Linked DNA regions of Homo sapiens: all the other regions are linked to region 2. Evidence: promoter capture Hi-C in 16 types of primary human blood cells and fetal thymus (Javierre and others, 2016). All regions are on one chromosome and are shown on one strand. Each heading gives the region's core, a stretch centred on a gene start or on the middle of the fragment in contact. The rest is flanking DNA. Distances are from core to core; before and after follow the strand shown.

The links. Contacts are between HindIII fragments. The CHiCAGO score rates a contact against its expected background, and 5 or more counts as called.
Region 1: a contact is called between a fragment that was not itself captured here and the fragment with the promoter of IGFBP2 in region 2, in 1 of 17 cell types (erythroblasts). The highest score is 5.8, in erythroblasts.
Region 3: a fragment that was not itself captured here is called in contact with the fragment with the promoter of IGFBP2 in region 2 in 1 of 17 cell types (fetal thymus); the score reaches 5.7 in fetal thymus.

What each region holds. Positions count from the first base shown.
Region 1 is chr2:217,528,930-217,533,261 of GRCh38, reverse strand. All of the region lies in intron 2 of DIRC3 (disrupted in renal carcinoma 3), which reads left to right. Among named protein-coding and RNA genes, the nearest start is that of DIRC3-AS1, 250 kb to the right of the region's middle. The HindIII fragment of the contact is 539 bases long and covers 1,327-1,865 here.
Region 2 is chr2:216,630,876-216,634,669 of GRCh38, reverse strand. It overlaps IGFBP2 (insulin like growth factor binding protein 2), which reads right to left and starts at 1,250. Exons shown (of 4, transcript NM_000597.3): 1 at 705-1,250. The coding sequence starts at 1,146. The HindIII fragment of the contact is 7,523 bases long and covers 1-2,636 here.
Region 3 is chr2:217,505,422-217,509,670 of GRCh38, reverse strand. All of the region lies in intron 2 of DIRC3 (disrupted in renal carcinoma 3), which reads left to right. Among named protein-coding and RNA genes, the nearest start is that of DIRC3-AS1, 220 kb to the right of the region's middle. The HindIII fragment of the contact is 789 bases long and covers 1,873-2,661 here.

The DNA.
Region 1 (4,332 bases), core at 347-2,846, 900 kb before region 2:
AACTACCAGATATAGGAAGAGGAAGCAGTAATACAAGGGTTTTGTGAAAACAATTTTGGTGTCCTTGCCGGGCTCGTTCTAGGACACCTCATACCCAGAGGGAGCAATCAAGTAATGTCCTATGGGAGAGGATTTTGGGAGGATTACATACCAGTGACTGTTACCCAGAAACTCATGAGACTGGCTTCTGTGACATAAAAAGCATGATGTCTGCCCAAAGTTAAGAGTTTCTATGATCTGTTTGGGGTTTGGGGATGCTACAAGAGGTTTTTATAGCAGGCTGGTGGTTAAATTTGGAGAGACTCTAAGCAACTCAGCAGCCAGGATCCCAGGGTTCCTGTAAACAGCAGAGTTGTGATGTCCAGTTGAAACCATGCACGCAAAGAGCTTAGCAAAGGGTCAGCCATATAAAAGTGTTCAATAAGTGGAAAGAGGAGGGAGATGTGTAAATTTTTCAGAAGGCAGGGCATTAATTTGAGCTTGTAGTGACCTGAGGCTGTTGTATTCCTGTATTAGTCCATTTTCATGCTGCTGATAAAGACATACCCAAGACTGGGTAATTTATAAAGAAAAAGAGGTTTATTGAACTCACAGTTCCATGTGAGGCTGGGGAGGCCTCACAATCATGGCAGAGGGCAAAAGGCATGTCTTACATGGCAGCAGGCAAAGACAGAATGAGAGCTTGTGCAGGGAAACTCCCCCTTATGAAACCATCAGACCTCCTGAGACTTATTCACTGTCATGAGAACAGCACAGGAAAGACCTGCCCCCATGGTTCAATTACCTTCCACCAGGTCCCTCCCATGACATTTGAGAACTGTGGGAGCTACAGTTCAAGAAGAGACTTGGGTGGGGACACAGCCAAACCATATCAATTTCTGTCTGCCCTATTCACATCTTTTAGAAAAGTTTAATGAGCCCAGTTTACTGATTAGGTTATGTGGAAATGGCTAAGGTCCTTTTGGGGTAGACTGGATCTGTTCAAGGGAAGTAAAGAAAGAGTGGAAGGTGGTGTTAATAATAACAATGTGATTTCATAATGCCATTCTTCAATGTGTAATTGATTGAACACCTAGAGTGTATTAGGAACATTATAAACAATCACATATAATCTCCAACATTTCATAGTCTGCTCACACTGAATAAATGAAGAAATCCAATCTCAAACAGGCTATGCAACCTGTCCATGAGAGAGGAAGACCTGGACCTCTGATCCTAACCTGTCTGATTCAGAAGCCCAGGTGAGGCTAGTACAGCAAGGGAGAAGGCTATGAAGGGGGTGGGGAGCAGGAGGCATGGCAGGCACTTTGGTCCTTGCTATAAGCTTTGGCATGCAAAGAGCTTTTGCAAAGCAGCACTAGAAATCACCCAAAGGAAGCCATTTGTAAGGTTTTGTGTGGACCAGGGCTATTGGTGTATCACCTTACTCCTTTTCCAGTCAACAATTCTTAAATCACTTTGTTCATGTCTCTCATTCAGATTGGGCTGCTATGAAGAGGACAGACAGGGCAGGAAAACATAAAATGACTGGATAGAAAATTAATAATTTAGGCTTTTTTTCAAAGAGAAGATAGAGGAGATGAACTGTTTTAGATAACCTAACACATCTAAAAAAATATGCTTAGGTGCTTGAGTTTATTTTAACCACAGCATATTTCACAGGGCTCTCACAGCTGATGTAGTAGCAGGGAATAACTTAGCAGCCCTAGAACAAAGTTATGCAGTGTGGTGGGGGAGTTTCTCTATTTCCTTGTTTTTAATTCCTGAAGAATCAAACCTTCTGTGTAGGCTGCCTGATATAGGCCATGGTCTTGTTAATGTCTCCTTAATTAACAAAGGGATTTTTATTTATCCAGTGCAAAGCTTTTCTTACCTCCTTTCCCTATCCCCCAAACCAGCCATGCAAGTCAGCACGTACTGAGACCTCAAAGAAATCCAACAGTGGACTTAAAAGAATCCATGCAGCCAGCTGAAGAGGAGTTTAATAAGCTTGGCCTCTCTTTTTCTTCTTCTTGTATTCAGCTTTTACAAGACTCTCAATATGTTGGCTGCAGGAAAATTCTGGGGCTCTGAGAGGTCCAGGAGATGGAGGGCAGTCGGGGAGCTGGAGATGGTAAGGGGTGTATTGCGAAGGTGACTAGAAGTGTGGCTTGAACCACAGCCAGGGATTGGACAATTCAGAATTGCCACAGTCTCATGCTCATGGAAAAAACTTGGCAAAGTATAGCCAGAAACGTAGGCCTAAGTTTTCAGCCCCTAGGACTTCAAACTGCCTATGTTTCCTTCCCCTAAAAGCCTCAGGCTAGCTTTGGTCTGTTTTTCAGAGAGTCACAGGCTGGTCAGGTGGAAGTGGACTTTGACCTGTAGGCTATCTGCAGGCTGAGTCAGAAGCCCAGGTGAAGGATGGTAGAGCAAGGGAGAAGGGTATGAAGGGGGTGGGTGGGAGTGGGGCATGGCAGGTGCTTTGGTTCTTGCTATAAACTTTGGTATGCAAGGAGCTTCAGCAAAGCAGCACTAGAAATTACCCAAAGGGAGCCATTTTTAAAGTCTTGTGGGGACCAGGGCTATGGCTCTCTGAATAGTGATGAAGGCCTTTTAGGTTGTCAACCTCTTGGGAGTAGCCCTACTCCTGGCAGACAGCACTGAAGCTGGCAGGAGAATCTATGTTGTAATTGGCGGCCTCCATGTATTCCAGAGAGGGAGGAGGGCCCACATTCTCCAGAGAGATAGTGAGATGAGGGAGGTGCCAGGTTTTCTGTGATCTTTGACTCTCAGCTGAATTACTGGGGAGAGAACCAGCTATAAAGACCATAAAATTGCTTTGGTAATCCCCTCTGAGAGCTATCTATTAGAAAAAAAAAAAGGGAGAAAAGATGATGGCAAAGTAAGAAATGATTCCCAGGGATCCCTGGGCCCCTGTGTTTGAGAATCTTTTCTAAAGGCCTCCTTTACCACCCCTGGTTAAGTCATTAAAACATAGAGGGAGGAAATCCAGAGCTTCCTGGCTATCAGCATGGTGAGACATCAGACTGCCCCTCTGTTGAGTCCTCAGCAGTGGTAGAGACATTTAGCGCTCACTTATTATTCAGGTGCTCCCTTTGCAGTTGGATTAGGCCCATTTGATTAGTTCTGGCCGATAGCTGTGATCAGCAATGATCTGTGCCATACTGGGGCCAAAGCAGTAAAGAGGCATTGTGCTACCTCGATCTTTCTTTACCTTGCTGGGGCAACCATGAAAGGCATATGCTGAGATGAAGAGACAACTTGATCCTTGAGTCCTTGGTTAGAAAAGAACCCTTACCAGGTTACAGAGATTAGGAGTTTGCCTGTGCCAAGCACTAACAATAATTATCGTGATTAAAATGTTGGTATCAGTGTCATGCTGTTTTGTTGTTGTTGTTGTTGTTGTTGTTTTTTTTTTTTTTTTTTTGTCCCAGGGACAGTTTTCCAGCATACAAGTGTTTCTCCAGAATTGGCTGATGGAGGCCTGGCTCCATCTAGTCTTGTAAAGCCTCCACAACTTTTTGCAAGGTTCTTTTGTGGAAGCTGTGAGTATTATCCAATCCCAAAAGAATATCTCTGGATTGTTAAGATCTCTGCGACTCAACAATTGGAAAGCACTTCCTATATGTCCAGATAGCTCTTACTGATGCCAGTCTACCAATCTTCTGGCTGCCCTAGCCACAAACCATAGATATGATTGCATTGATTCATTCAACAAGGATGTGTTTGGTACCTGCAAAGGTCCAGACAGTCTTCTGGCATTTGGCCTGCTTCATGGCCCTGCCCTTGTTCTTGCAAGATGGTGATTATCTGACGTGATGGAAGGCACCATACCCAGGAGCTGAGCAACATGCTGACACATATCAATTATCTCCTCCCAATTTCCCAAGAACTCATTAGATAAGAATTATTTCCTTGTCTTTTCTTACAGATAAGGAGACTGACTTCCAGAGAGTCTCCTGGTCACAAAGCCAGGAACTACACAGCCTTCTCAGGTCCTGATTCCACGGCTTCTGTACTCTTTTCAGGAAACATGGATATTCCAAGATTGCTTCCCAGATTAGTCATGATGAGGTTCTGAGAATATGGATATTCTTTCTGTGGTCAACTTTGCTCAGTAATCACAGACCTCTCCCAGTGGTCACAGGTCTGCTGATTAAGAACTATAGGACAAGAGAAGATGTTTCCTAAGAATCACAGAGTAACGTGCTACTCATAGATTCTGTCGTAGATTGGAGGAAATCTGGCCCAGTCCGTTGACTTCTTCTGGAATCATAGCACACTTTGTTCTGACCACTTTTACCCATTAAGTGGATTTGTTGAGGAGGA
Region 2 (3,794 bases), core at 1-2,500:
CGGCGATCGGGCTTAAGTTACATTGATTCAGCTGCTAGGAGACCCCTCGCCTACCAAATGCCTCCCTTTTATTTTTCCATTCAACGTGGTAGCAAGAGCCCTGCTCGTTCCCTATGGAGAAATAGTAGTGGTGGTTTTCATTTTTCTCCTAAGCGACTCATCCTACAAAGTACCAAGTCCTTTCTTTCCAACTCACAACCCCAGTAGAAGGAAGGGCCCCTTGGGACGCCGGTGCCTCCTCCTAGCTCCCTCTCCTCTTCCAAGGTTCCTGGTGTCACTGGCACCCCGCAGCCTCCGCCTCCCAGCAGCGATCCCACCAGGACCCTTGGGTCCTCAAGCAGTGCCCCAAATAAGATTCGAGTTCCTACTCCCATGGATCTGACCACCGGCCCCCTTCTCAGCAAATCCCTCCTCCAGAATAGAAGTCTGGGTCCGTTCCACGCGGGTAAAACTATGGCAGCAGGGATGCCTTTCCTCTCCCCATTCATCCCCACCAAATGAGTCGCCAGGGCTCTTCCACTTGCTCTAACTCCAGTTCCCCTCCCCGGGCCTGACTTCCGCGTCCCGCTAGCAACAGTCCCCCTTGATTTGGTCCAAGGTCTCGGCTCTGCCGCCCCTAAAACCGTCCGTAAGGTCCAGCCGCCCGTCGGGCTTCTCCGCTGCCCTCCAAGTTTCTCCCAACTACTTGTTCCAGACCGCGTTACCTGCAACCTGCTCCGGGCTGGCGCCATACTCGGCGTCCCGGCGCTTCTCACAAGTGCCCTCGCCCATGACCAGCGCCTGCAGGGGCAGCTCGGAGCCCGGGTGGGGATAGCAGCGCAGCCCCTGGCCGCAGCGCGGGGTGTAGACGCCGCACGCCTCGCCCTCCAGCCGGGCGCACACCGAGCAGCAGCCGCAGCCCGGCTCCCGGACGAGCTCCGCGCATGGCATGCGGGCGCCTCCGGCCACTGCGGCCACCGCGGCGGGCGGCGCAACCGGCGGGGGCCCGCAGGCGGCCAGGCGCTCGGGTGTGCAGGGCGGGCAGCGGAACAGCACCTCCGCGCGCGCCCCGCCGCCGCCGCCACTCGCGCCCAGTAGCAGCAGCAGCAGCGGCAGCAGCGGCGGCGGCGGCAGCGGCAGCGCGGGGCAGCCCACTCTCGGCAGCATGCTGGCGGTCGGCAGCGCGGCGCGGCGGGCGAGCGAGCGAGCGGGCGGGCGGGCAGGTGGCACGGCCCTGCGAGCGCGGGAGCCGCCTCCTCCGCTTCTTCCTCCTCCCTCGCCGCCGCAGCCGGGTCCTAAAGGGCCGGCTTCTCCCCGCCCCCTGCCTTCTCCCCTCCCCCTTTTGGAGACCACTCCCTTCCCCCCCGACACTCCCTCGCGCCGGCAAGTGAGTGCGCGCACGCCCGCTCGCCCACCTCCGCGTTGGCTGCGGGCTCTGGGGGTTCCCTGCTCTTCCCGGGCCCCGTCCCTCCGCACTCTTCTGGCCTGACTATGACTCCTGAAGGAGAATACGGATAACTCGCGGGTTTGGGTAGGACCGGCGTGGCGGTGGAGAAGAGCGCGTGCTTTTGTCTGCTCTCAGTTCAGTTCGCGAGGACTTCGTTTGCGCGCTTCCCCTGTGGCCGGCACTGGGCTAACCGCTGGGGAACACAAAAGACATAAGGCTCCGTTTTGACCTTCAAGTAGATTTCAGTCGGCTCATACCAACTCCTTCCATCCTGGGGTATCACCCACCACTGACACGTGGCTTGGAACAATGACTTCTTGTTGGGTGGGTCCTGCGGAGTTTCAGACCCGTCTAGACCAAGCTAGACCCAAACAGCCCCGAATGGTCTTAGTGACTATTGCAGTTTTCCAAACCTGGGAGCTCGTGACTACAACCTATGAGAACCCTAAGTGCCCCGCAAAACCTGCCCCCTTCGTCTGCAGACCCCCTCCCTTCTCCGCCCGCTAAAATAATCCCTTAGCACCCTGGGCCCCCACCTACAAATCTCGAGGCACTTGTTGCAGGACAGATCCCAGAACACTCAGTTGCAGGGGTCTTGGAGAGGTCAGATCAGCTCTCCAGGTGTGACAGACCCGCTCTGGGGTAAGGCCATTTATGGCTGTCTTCAATAATGCAGATGGACAAGCATGACCTCCTTTCATTGTTCTGTTTGATTTACTGAGTCATCTACCCAAGCTGCCCCCAACCCCCATCATTCCAGGCTGGACTCAGCCATAATCAACCATCTCCTGGGGTGTGACCCTAACAAAGACCCCTGTCAGAGAGATTCCTTGGGTGACAGGTGGACCATTAAGCTGCCTCCACCGCAGGTTTCATCTCCCTATACCTCAGCGCCCCTCTTCCCCCCAGACCCCTCCACTCTGGCTCTTTCTGACTTCAAGGCTCAGAGCCTGTTTGATTCAGTTCAACAGCTAGTTAACCCAATGGCCACCTGGCTCTGAAGGTGACCTAGATGCCTCCAGGAAGGCAAGTACCTGGTCTTAAGACGCCAAGCTGGGAAGAGTTATCGGGAAAGACTTTGGTAAGATAAAAAATAAATAAATAAATGTTTATCAGAGGCTTTGAAGAAAAGAAATATTTTGGTAGAGAGGTGATGTGGTGGTTGAGGAAAGGGGAGTTTCTTGGGTGAGTCGGAGCTGAAATTGAAGCTTGTAATTCTACCAGAGGAAATGGGCGGTTAGCAAGGGCACAGGCAGAGGGACCACCTGAAGCAAAAACACAGAAATGGGGCCGGGCGCGGTGGCTCACACCTGTAATTCCAGCACTTTGGGAGGCCGAGGCAGGTGGATCACCTGAGATCAGGAGTTCAAGACCAGCCTGGCCAACCGTGGCCAACATGGTGAAATCCCATCTCTACTAAAAATACAAAAAATAGCCAGGCACGGTGATGCACGCCTGTAGTCCCAGCAACTTGGGAGGCTGAGGCAGGAGAATCGCTTGAACCCAGGAGGTGGAAGTTGCAGTGAGCCAAGATCGCACCACTGCACTCCAGCCTGGGTGACAGAGTAAGAATCAGTCTCAAAACACACACACACACACACACACACACACACAGAGAGAGAGAGAGAGAGAGAGAGAGAGAGAGAGAGAGAGAGAAATGGGAAAATGAGTTTGGGGATCAGAAAGTCCACTTCAGCCAGAGTGCAGGATGCTTGCAGAGAGCAGCAGGGGAGGCAGGAAATCCAGTTGACTGTGGCGCTTTGGCTTAATATGCTGGGCAGTAAGGATACAGCATCCATGTTTGAGCAGAGGAAGAGATGGACAGAGCTGGACTTCTGGAAATCATTAGCACTATGTAGAGTGCCGATCTGAAAAAAAAGTAAAAAAAAAAAAAAATCGTTAGCACTATGTAGGGTGCCGATCTGAAAAAAAAAAAAAAAAGAAGTAAAAAGCACTATGTACAGTGCCAATCTAAAAAAAATAAAAATAAGACACAGGAAGGATCATGGTCATTCCACCTTCATTCTCCCTGGTGTCTCCTGCCTGCTTTGTAACGTGTTTCTGTTGGTCCCACCCACTGAGCTCCTACAGAGTAGGCACAGGGTCTAGCACAACGCTGTCCAATAGAAATCTACTGCAAATCGCAAACGTGAGCACATGTGCAATTGTAAATTTCTAGTAGCCATATTAAAATATAGTAAAAAGAAATAGATGACATTTATTTTAATAATATTCTTAATTTGGCGGTATATCCAAAATACTATCATTTCAATGGGTAATCAACACTAAAATTAATGAGAGAGTTAACATTCCTTTTCTTATACTAAATCCTCAAGTTCTGATGTGTATGCTATACAGCACATTTCAG
Region 3 (4,249 bases), core at 1,018-3,517, 870 kb before region 2:
CACTGCAACAAAGATATTAATCTTCCTAGATATCAAAAAATAAATATCACATGAAATAAACCACACTGAGAAAGAAAAATTATATACATAATTTTACACAGAATACAAGTTGAGACCATGTACATCAGTCATATTACTAAATTATATTTATTATATTATAATTTATTGATAAGCTTATTAATAAATTACATAAATCCCCAATTAAAAATATTTTCAAATTGACTCATACAGCAAAACTCAATTCTGTGAGATACATTTGAGACACACCTACAATAAAGTGATTCAGAAAGACTAAGAATAAAGAGGTATTCCAGACAAATGGAAACCGTAAAATAAAGACACTCAAATCTAATCAACATAATTCATAAGGTAGACATTATAGATATATATGAAACCTCCACTCTTGCTAATATTGGGAATATACTCTCTTCTTAAGCACAAATAGAATGTTCACAGAAATTGACCTCATGTTGAGTAACTGTCTTCCTCTAGGCTGCTATAGCAGAATATCAGAGACTGGGTGGCTTAGAAACAACAAAAGTTTACTTCTCACAGTTTTAGAGACTAAGAAGTCTAAGATCAAGGTGCCAGCAGATTTGGTGTCTGTTGAAGACCTACCTCCTCATTCATAGACAACACCTTCTTGCTGTGTCCTCACATAGTGACAGGGACTAGCTAGCTCTCTGGGGTCTCTTTTATAAGGGCACTAATCCCACTTATAAGGGTAGATATCTGATGGCCTGATCACCTCCCAAAGGCCCCACCTCCTAATGCCACCACCTTGGGAATTAGGATTTCAATTCAATGTGAATTTTAGGGGGACATAAGCATTCAGCCCATTGTAGTCACAAAGAAAGTTTTTGAGTGAGTTCCATGAAGTAGAAATTAATGAGAAAATTTAAAAACGTTCTTCTACTTGGAAATTAACATCTGTTAGATGACTATTGGGTGAAAAAGGATATACAAACTAAAATTGCAGAATTTCAAAAAACAATAATAGAATAAAAATATGCACATCTGATTTAATGAGAAATAAAGCAGTGATCTGAGGATAATCTGTGGGATTAAATATTTGAATCAATAAAAAATAATTACAATAAATAAATTTTATTCCCAACTTAAAAACCGAGAAAAATTACAAAGTAAATAAAAAGAAAGTATAAAGCAGGAAATAATAAGGATAAAAGAGGAAATTAATGTAATACAAAAGAGTAAAAAAAGAACTAATTAATGATTCGAAATGCTGGTTGATATGGTTTGGCTGTGTCCCCACCCAAATCTCATCTTGAATTGTAGTTCCCATAATCCCCTTGTGTTGTGGGAGGGACCTGGTGGAAGGTAATTGAATCATGGGGGCAGTTACCTCTATGCTGTTCTCATAGTAGTGAGTGAGTTCTCACGAGATCTGATGGTTGTATAAGTGGCTATTTTCTCCCTCTTCGTTCTGTACTTCTCCTTGCTGCCATCATGTGAAGAAGGATGTGTTTGCTTCCCCTTCCATCATGATTGTAAATTTCCTGAGGCCTCCCCAGCCCTGTGGAACTGTGAGTCAATGAAACCTCTTTTCATTTATAAATTACCCAGTCTCTGGTATGTCCTTATAGCACTATGAGAATGGACTAACACATGGGTTCTTTGGGGAAAAAAGGAAAAACAATATACTGATAACTAACCTAATCAAGAAAAAAAGGCAAAGAGCAAATATACAAAATAAGAAAAGACTAGAAGGAAATAATCATTATAAAAAGGAAAATAAATCACAGGTTGACTACTTTGCAAAACTCTATGTAAATACATTTGGAAACTATGAAATTGATTATACCATATGAAAATGTAATTTACCAAAACAGGTCCCATTTGATATAGAAAGCTTAAGCAGACCATTCTCCAGAGTAGAAAAAAAGTGAAGAAAGTTGTCAAAAATTATTCCACGTGGAAACACTGGACCAATATGGTTTCATAAGGGAATTCTATGAATCTTCAAAGATCACATAATCTCAAATAAATTGTTCCAAGGTATATAAAATGGAGAACTTCCAAATTCTCCATATAATGTTGCTATCAAATCCTAATAAAGATTAATATTAATGGTGATAACAATGATCATTATTATTGTAGGAATCTACAAGCCAATTACCTTTATAAATATAGATGCTAAAATTAGATTAAAAAACTAGCCAAAAGTTTCCAACACCATATTAATAAAACATCAATATCAAATTCCAGGAATGCAGACTTTAAATATGCAGAAATTAATTTATATAATTCACCTTATTAATAGATTTAAGGAGAAAAATCAAACAATTATCTCCATAGGTGCTGAAATGACCTTCAGTAATATTCAACACTCATTCCTGAAAAATGCACTCAATTAAATAGAAATAGAAAAAATGCACTCAAAAAGAAAGACTTCACGCAGTTTACATATGTGTACATGTGTATATGTGCTTTATGCATATCCGTGTACCTCTGTCCTAAACTTAGCATCTTATTTAATTGAGAAGCCTGGGAGGCATTCCTGCTAAGGCCAGAAATAAGATAAGGATGCTATCTTCCTTACTATTTAACATTGTCTTGTCGGTGTTAATCAATACAATTAGATATAGGTGTAAAAATTTGAGAAGCAAAAACTCTCTATGCAGATGAAATGATAGTAAAGCTTGAAAACCCATGAGAATTCATGATTAAACTAATTGAAATTAAATAAGGAATTCAATGAGACAGTAGGATATAAATTAACTTATAAAAATCAATAGCTTTCATATATACAAAAATAACCAATTACAAGATGTAATGGAAGAGAAAACATCCATTTATAATTACAACAAAAAGAGGTGAAACTTGAAAAGAAATATGCAAAATCTAAATGAGGAAAATTCTAAAACACTTCAGAAAGACATTCAAGTAGACTTGAGCAAGTAAAAAGGCATCTGTTCTTCTTGGAGAGAAACTACTCAACATCATACAGATGTCAGCTCTTCTCAAGTTAACATGTGAATTTAACTTAAATGCAAGAAAAATGTCAACAAGCTTTTGTTTTGTTTTGTTTTCTGGACCTAAACAAGTTGATTCTAAAATTATATAGAAAAGTGAACATGCAAGAATGGCTGGGAGACCCTACACAGGGGGGATGAGGGAAGCAATAAGGGGAGATTGGTCTTCTTGGATACTAAAACGTACTGTAACTGCTTGGTGGTTAACACAGTATGGTAGTGGCACATGAATGGAGAGATCAGAGGAACAAGATAGAAAGTCCAGAAATAGATTTAAGCTAGCATAAAAATGTATTATTTGATATAGATGGCATTTCAAATCATTGGGCAAGTATGGACTTCTGAATAAATGGTATTGGGACAGTTGGACAACTATTTGGATAAAGACAGAACTGGATCCACACCTTACACCATATACCATAATAAACTCTGAAGGCACGAGAAATCTAAATGGAAAAATACATAATAAACAATCCATACAAATACTAGAAGAAAACATGAATGAATATTTTGTAACTTGAATATAGGACAGGCTTTCTAAATGTGACTAAAGATCCATATACAATGAAAGAAAAGATTGAGGAGTTGTACTACATAAAATTAATAAAGAATTGTGTGGCTAAAAAAGCAAAAATATTTGCAACATGCATCAGAGATAAATGCCCTCTCCTTAATGTATAAAACATTTTTAAAAATTGAGAAAAAAGCAAAAATCGTGAATTTCCACAAAAATTATAGGAACTTGACCCTTAAACACATGAAAAGATGCTCAGCTGCACTCTTAAAACGGTTACACAGACCAAAACTATACTTTTATAACCGATTGAGTTGGCAAAAATTCACAAGTTTAACAACTCATTCTCCTGCTGAAGCTGTGGGAAAATAGGCTGCATTAGTGCGCCTCAGCTGCCATAACAGGATACCATAGACTGAGGGGCTTAAACAACACGCATTTATTTTCTCACAGTTCTGGAGGCTGGGAGGCCAAGAACAACTTATCTCCTTAAAGGTCCTCTCTCCAAATACAGTCACATTCTGAGGCACTGGGGGTTAGGGCTTGAACAGATGAATTTTCAGAGGACATAATTTGGCTCATAACACAGTCACATACATTGCCTTTGGAAGTTCAAGTGGTGTAATCAGCTTGGAGGGAGATACGGCAGAGTAACATTTATCTGCTGACTCTGCAACTGACTCCTATAACTTTATTCTGAAAACTTCCAAAACAAACAAACAAACAAACAAAACCAAAGTGA